2 separate regions of the Homo sapiens genome follow, and region 2 is linked to region 1. Evidence: promoter capture Hi-C in 16 types of primary human blood cells and fetal thymus (Javierre and others, 2016). All regions are on one chromosome and are shown on one strand. Each heading gives the region's core, a stretch centred on a gene start or on the middle of the fragment in contact. The rest is flanking DNA. Distances are from core to core; before and after follow the strand shown. Region 1 holds the start of MBIP (MAP3K12 binding inhibitory protein 1). Region 2 overlaps FBXO33 (F-box protein 33).

Region 1 (3,517 bases), core at 677-3,176:
CATTCAGTTTTATGTTTCCTACTGAGGAGATCTAATAATACAACGATACTTAGGGATGACACAGGATGAAGTTAGGCATGTTACAACATACATTCTAAATATCCTTTAAAGTGGTTGCAAAAGAAAATACTGATTTCTCTGGGGGCAATTTTATAAGTATGGAACTCTAATTTTCACTCTTAACACTTCTCAAAATATAGAGTATTATGAAAACAGTTTGTATTTAATTGATGAAACAATCATATTTTTGACACTTGTATAGGAGGTCCCTTCACTGTGTCATGGTAAAGTAACCAAATATTTACTGTGAACATTTTTGACAGGTGACATAAGTAAATTGTAATCACTTCTTTACTTGTACAGTACTTGAATGTTTAAAATTTTCTAATGAGTTTGAAAAATTCAGTATGCAAAATATTTCAAAAGAAATGTTTAAATCATTGCTCAGTATTTTTTAAAAATATTCCATCTTCTGTTAACAGGTGAGAATAAACTTTTTTCATCTTGACATTATAAAATAAATAAACTTAAGTTCCAACGTCGCCATAAAAAGTTCTCTAACTTTTAAACCATTTAAACGTCTTGGGTCTTAAGAATGGAATGTTAATAACAAAACACCCCAAGTCTTTAAAAAATGTTTTTGGTAAGTACTTGGCAAACAACTGAATTTAAAAGTTATATCTTTAAGCAGACTCCATTAATAACTGCGTCATTTCATAAAACCGTTTAACTTACAGTAATGTTCTTTGTAAGACACAACATACTACGATTTTTAAAAATAGTAACTTCTTAAAAGACTGATTCTCCATCTACTCAAGGCTTTAAAAATAATTTTCACAAATCAGACAAATGTTCTATTTTCATAGGAATTTACCATTATCTTTGACACAAATGCCTGCTTTGTCCACTTGCGCTAGTACCAGCCCCAAAACAAACTTTTACGGCTAGAAAATGGTCTATGTAAGATAGAAAATATTTCCTTTTAAAAGGCAGGTAAACAAGCATACTTTTAAATTGTTTCTCATTTAAAACTTGAATTTTACACCATGAAACGAAACAGTGACTTGATCGAAGAAGCCCATTTCAATTTAAAACCAATTTTACTATGACATTTCTGCAAAAGCGATTTATCAGCCAGTTAAACTAGTTAATAGTTAAATAACGACAGTTCTAACGCCAACAGCATTTTACGCTAGAAGTATTTTAAATGAATTCCTTTTACTTTTCTCCCCATTTGAAAGGATTATAGATGCGCAAAACAGCCCGAAGGAAAAAAGAAATAAACAAAACCAAGTAACTCATAAGAACAAATTACTCCCTCCCCCACCAAAAAAAGCTAATAAGCGCGCGCTTTTCTATAAATCTCAGGCCTACTGACCAACCAATTCCCATAAAGAGTAAGTTGGAGGAAAAAGGACCCTGAACGCTAAGCGCCTCCTAAACTCGCAGTGAAGCTTTTCCACATTCATTCTCTCCAAGCCTGCCTCTCTCGGAGCCGGGTTTTCACTTAGGCCAACCTCACCCACTCTTGGGGAGGACAGCTGCAAGGTAAACGACTCTGCAACCGGTACCGCCGTCCTCCTCACTCCGACCGAGGAGGCTGGGCCCGGGCTCCTTCCACACCTCGGCTTCGGGACCGCATCCCACACCTCTGCAGGCCTAGCTGCCCCCGGCCTCTGCTAGAGAAAAAGAATGGCGAGGAGGGACCGGATGGTTTCCATATTCCCAGTCCCTCAGGCCACCTCTCACCTGTCCAACCAGGGTGTGTAGGGAGCGAAAGATTTCGTAGAGCACCTCTCGGGAGAGGTTGGGTCTGCATCTTCGCTCCAGGTTCCTGTCACCGCTGCTCGGGCGATTAAGCTCCGTGGCAGCAGCCATGATATCTTCTCAGGCCGCCCCACCACCACCACCACCAAGATTTGCTCACAACCCCGCCCCCTCCCTTCCAGCTTTAGTCGCTTGGCGATGACGTAAGACACGGAGTCTGGTTTAGATCGGGCTTTGAGGCCCCACCCTCTCTATGTGAATGACAAGCACGTTACACCAATCAGTTGCAGCTGTGACATTGCGCCGAGGCTCTGAAGTGGGTAATTGCAGACCACAGCTAGGCTGGAATGCTGTGTTTGGGGTGGTCATTAGAGTCGTGGTCTCTTTAGCGTTATGAAGCCTACCTTGACTCCTAGGTGTTCATTGTGAATCTTGGTAAGAGGAGACATAGTTAAATTTTGTAGTTTGAGTCCAAAAAGTAAAAGTTGACATTTTAACATGGCGGTGTGGAGTGGGTCTGGAGGAAGCTTGCTGGTCAGGGATGGAGTGGTGCCCACACGTGTTTCTAAACATTGGAAAACTCACACGGAATTATCATGATTGGATAGAACATTTTCATCTCTTCAAGTTTGTTGTTGTTGTTTTGGAGACAGAGTCTCACTCTGTCGCCCAGACTGGAGTGCAGTGGCACTACCTCGGCTCACTGCAACCTCCGCCTCCCAGGTTCAAGCGGTTCTCCTGCCTCAGCCTCCTGAGTAACTGGGACTACAGTTGATATTCTCTGTTTTAACTGTAGAGACGCTTAACCCTAAAATTGTTTCAAAGAAATGAAACACTGTCAATATAATTCCAACAGGAATTTAACCTGGATAAATAATATCATGCAACCACAATCTTTGAAATTAGGACATAAAACCGAATTCAAATTTTACAAAGTATTATTTATCATAATAGCTTTATTATAACGATGTTTGTGGGGTTTTGTAATCTTTTAGTCAGACTCCGATATTTTTAAAAAGTGTTATCCAATTAAAGTATTACAATAATTTTTAGTGTTAAGCTTTATTCAAAAACACTTTAAGAAATCAACATCAGCTTAGAGATAAGGAAGGTGGGATTTAAAACTCGTAATTCTGTTAATAGTCTAATGCATTTACAGTAGAGAAAGCAAAGGTGGAAACTTGCACAATGTGTATTCTTTAGTTTTAGGGTAGACTAAATTAAAGGGAAGGACTAATGCATCAAGGAACTAAGATAAGGACGATGGGGATAAAAACTCCTTTGACCTGTCCCTAGGGAGTCTCTTAATTAGGCTTTCATTTCCAAAGACAAATGGGATCACCAGGCTTGACAGAATCTTGGGAAATCTTTTCTGTTCCCTTGTTGGCAGCAAGATATACAACTGACATTCCAGCCTATTTCTACAGGCAGAAAAATACTTCACAATGTCCAGTCTCAAATTGAGCAACCTTCTTATTCAAGCATGGTAATGGGGTAACTGTAAGTTTTTGTTTTGTACCAAATTAGCAATCAGTTTCAGATCATTTGTTTTCATTGAGGTGTTTCATATTTTTTCAAATATGGAGAACACTGATATGCAACACATTTGGGAATATGCTTTGTATATTTAAAAAATGTTGTCTTTAACAAGGTGCTGCTATTCCTTTCTTTGCCATCATTGATTTTGAATTTTCAAGTTTTACTTGTTCTTTTGAGCCTCTAATACAGAATTAACTGATGGCCATTTGAT
Region 2 (3,517 bases), core at 731-3,230, 3.1 Mb after region 1:
TATAACTTTTTTCCTTTTTTAAATTAATAAAAGCTAAAATAATCCACCATCATTGCATGAAATTCTCTTGGGCTGGTTCTATTCTTCTTAGTCCACTTTCAGTATCATGTTTTAACATCCACATTATACTTTTTTAATAACATTATTTCCTTTCCTCAAAAATGCTAATGAACGGTCATAGCCAAATCAAACGAACACAAATAGTTTAGAGATGTGTTGTCCAGTAGTTTTCTTCTATGGATGGAAGTGTACTATTCTTTGTTGTACAATATAGCAGTCACTAGCCATATGTGACTATTGAGCGCTCGAAATGTGGCTAGTGGAACTAATGGGGTCTTTAATTTTATCTATTTAAAATTTAAATAGCTATCTGTAGCTACTGGCTGCCATATTTGACAGTACAACATTAGAACCCAGAAATAAATAACCGGCCTATAACAGTACTCCGTATTAGCTTTGGGACCCATTAACCAGAAGTTATTTCCCAGAACTTACAATTCCATCTAAGAATTACCATCCCCTAATCTAAGAATAACTACCATCCCCAAATCCCGAAGGTTACACACAAAAGGTGTATTTAAATAAAATGAACACTTGCGGTTGTTATTTAACATGCTATTTTTAAAAATTATTTATTTATTTATTTTTTATTTTATTTTTTCATATTTATTTTTTTAACATGCTATTAAAAGATAATTTTAACAATAATAAGGACAAGAAAATCGAGTGAGAAAGAAATGATGAAAAAATATTGTTTTTTCCTTTTGTCTTACTACCCACATCTAACTGGTGAGTACTCTGGGCTATACTTCCAAAATCCATCCACTTTTTTTCATCTCTCCTGCCTCCATCATAGTTCAAGCTACCATCATCTCTTGCTTAGAGTACAGTAAAAGCTTCCCAACTTGTCCCCCTACTTTCTCTCTTGGTCCCTAAGTCGCTCATAAAATGGCCAGGGTGATTGTCTTAAAATGCAAATGATATCACATTATTCTTGTCCTTAAAATTTTTTTCAGTGACTTCTTCTATCCTTGGAATATATTCCAAACTTCATTAAATAAGCCTACCTAACCCCAATTCTTCCTTCTTCTACTTCTCAGAACTCATCATGGCATCATTTTCATCCTCACTTGCCACAGCCCTGTCACACTTTCTTTTCCACTGCTCGAACAGACCAAAAATTTGTCTGGCTCAAGACCTTAGCGCTTACTGTTTCTTGTGTGTGGAATGCTATTTGCTCAGATCTTCAGATGGGCAACGCTTGTTATTCATGCTGCAGCTCAAATATCCTTCTCAAAAGAGGTTTCCCTGACACTTTACCTAATGTTGCCACCTAGTGACTATTACATCCTTCTGTTTTATTTTCAGATTTTATTTTCACAACCTGAAATAATCCTTCTTTCCTTTGTCTACTTGTTTCTGTCTTCCTTCCTCCTCTAGAATGACTCCGTGAGAACGGGAAGCATGTCTTCCCCGCCTGGCACATAGTACGCTCTCAATAATTGGAGGAAAAAACCCTAGATTTTCTATAACTATCATTTTAGCTCCTAAATAAATTGGTCAAGTTTGGTGAACTCTCCCAAGGCTGCCTCAGAACTAACAAATTAAAATGGAGATATTTAATCACTCCACTCAAAAGCTGCTTAACACCCTCATTTAACACAGTCAAAAAATTTTAACTTTTTTTTCCTTGAGTTTTACACCCTATTCCATCTATCAGTTGCCAATACAGCTGTGGAATAAAAAGTCCTAAAACCTCTCATAACAGCCTTCCAGGAGGTTAGTTTCTTTAGCTTTCCTTCTCAGTAACTTTGAGGCTATCCCTAAGGAGCCTCTTTTTCAGTTTTTAGGTAAGGAGCCTGCTGGGAATGCAGTGTCACAGGAAACTAATTCTTGAACAGGGCAGATTGGTCACAGGCCCAGTATATTTTAATATATTTATTCTGTAAATGGGCTTTTTAAAGTAAATAATAACAAAGTAAACTCTCAGAGATGAAACATTGTTAGACATATTTATTATACTACCACAGGAGAAATATTTCAAGAAAAATAAGGCTAAAAACTGTTGGAGATAATACCTTCAAGGCATTTTCTACCATCTTAGGTAGTAATCTGAAATGTCCAGGGAATTTTTAACCCATTTTAAAATGCATTTTTAGGCAGGGTGCAGGGGATCACACCTGTAATCCCAGCACCTTAGGAGGCAGAAATGGGAGAATCATATGAGGCCAGGTATTAGAGACCAGCCTGGGCAACACAGTGAGATCCTGTCTTTACACAAAATTAAAAAAATATATATATCAGCCAGGCATGGTGGTGCATGCCTGTAGTCCTAGCTACTAGGGAGGCTGGGGTGGGAGGATCATTTGAGCCCAGGAATTTGAGGCTGCAGTGAGCTATGATCATGATTGCTCCATCCTGAGTCACAGAGCAAGACTCTGTCTCAAAATATTTTTAAATGTCTTTATTATTGTTTCTTGGTAGGAAACAATACAAAGGTAAGATTCTCCTTCACTGTGCATGCCAAATCAACAAGACCCAAATCTAAGTATTATTAATAGATCCTTTTTAACTTACAGGATATATAAGCAGACACAGTCATGAAATGGTCAATCTACATACAAGCAGTTAGAGCTGTACCCAGAATCTTAAAAAGAAAATCAATCTTGTACAAAATTTCTCTGGTCTGTTACAATATGCATTCTTTTTTTTTAAATTTTTTTTTGAGACGGAGTCTGGCTCTGTCACCCAGGATGGAGTGCAGTAGCACGATCTCTATTCACTGCAACCTCTGCCTCCTGACTTCAAGCGATTCTACTGCCTCAGCCTCCTGAGTAGCTGGGATTACAGGCATGCACTGCCACACCCGGCTATGTATTTTAAAAGAGATGGGGTTTTGCCATATTGACCAGGCTGGTCTCGAACTCCTGACCTCAAGTGATCCACCCGTCTCGGCCTCCCAGAAAGTGCTGTCATTACAGGTGTGAGCCACCACCCCTGGCCAACGATATGAATTCTCAACAACAACAAAAAAGTACTGCCCCTAACAGCATTCCACCCAAGAAAAGCTTATGTAAAACATTTATACAGCCCATAGAAGCATAAACCAGATGAAGACAATGTGCCTATGGCTACTCTTCAGGTATTTTTAGTGACTGAGTCTATTACCTATTATCATAAATCTTACCATGAGCTCTCGTTTTTCCTAAGGAGTCTGAAATACAGCATTTTAATAGGCAGTACCCAACCTGACAACTGGATTAAATGCTAAAAATGCATTTATATCTATTTGTTGTTTGCACTTCTAGGTACAATTTCTTATAGAACGACTGCAGAGAAATTCAGCCTATGTGACCTAAAATACAGTTGAATGAGTACTTACTGCCCCTCTGTTCTTACTATTAATGAAGAAGACAGGTATCCTAGTGCCCTGTAGAGAAGGAATTTCTGAAACGTGAAGGACTGTGTGTTACCCTCAGAGAGGCACTTATGCACCTTCTTTATCCTTATTAGTTGT

Evidence for each region. The method cuts DNA at HindIII sites, captures the fragments that hold promoters and counts their contacts. A CHiCAGO score of 5 or more calls a contact.
Region 2: a fragment that was not itself captured here is called in contact with the fragment with the promoter of MBIP in region 1 in 1 of 17 cell types (total CD4 T cells); the score reaches 6.0 in total CD4 T cells.

The regions. Positions count from the first base shown.
Region 1 is chr14:36,318,711-36,322,227 of GRCh38, forward strand. MBIP (MAP3K12 binding inhibitory protein 1) reads right to left here and starts at 1,927. Exons shown (of 9, transcript NM_016586.3): 1 at 1,750-1,927. The coding sequence starts at 1,878. RefSeq lists enhancers at 1,616-1,875, 2,276-2,325. The HindIII fragment of the contact is 840 bases long and covers 1,453-2,292 here.
Region 2 is chr14:39,425,499-39,429,015 of GRCh38, forward strand. All of the region lies in intron 1 of FBXO33 (F-box protein 33), which reads right to left. Among named protein-coding and RNA genes, the nearest start is that of FBXO33, 5.2 kb to the right of the region's middle. The HindIII fragment of the contact is 2,172 bases long and covers 895-3,066 here.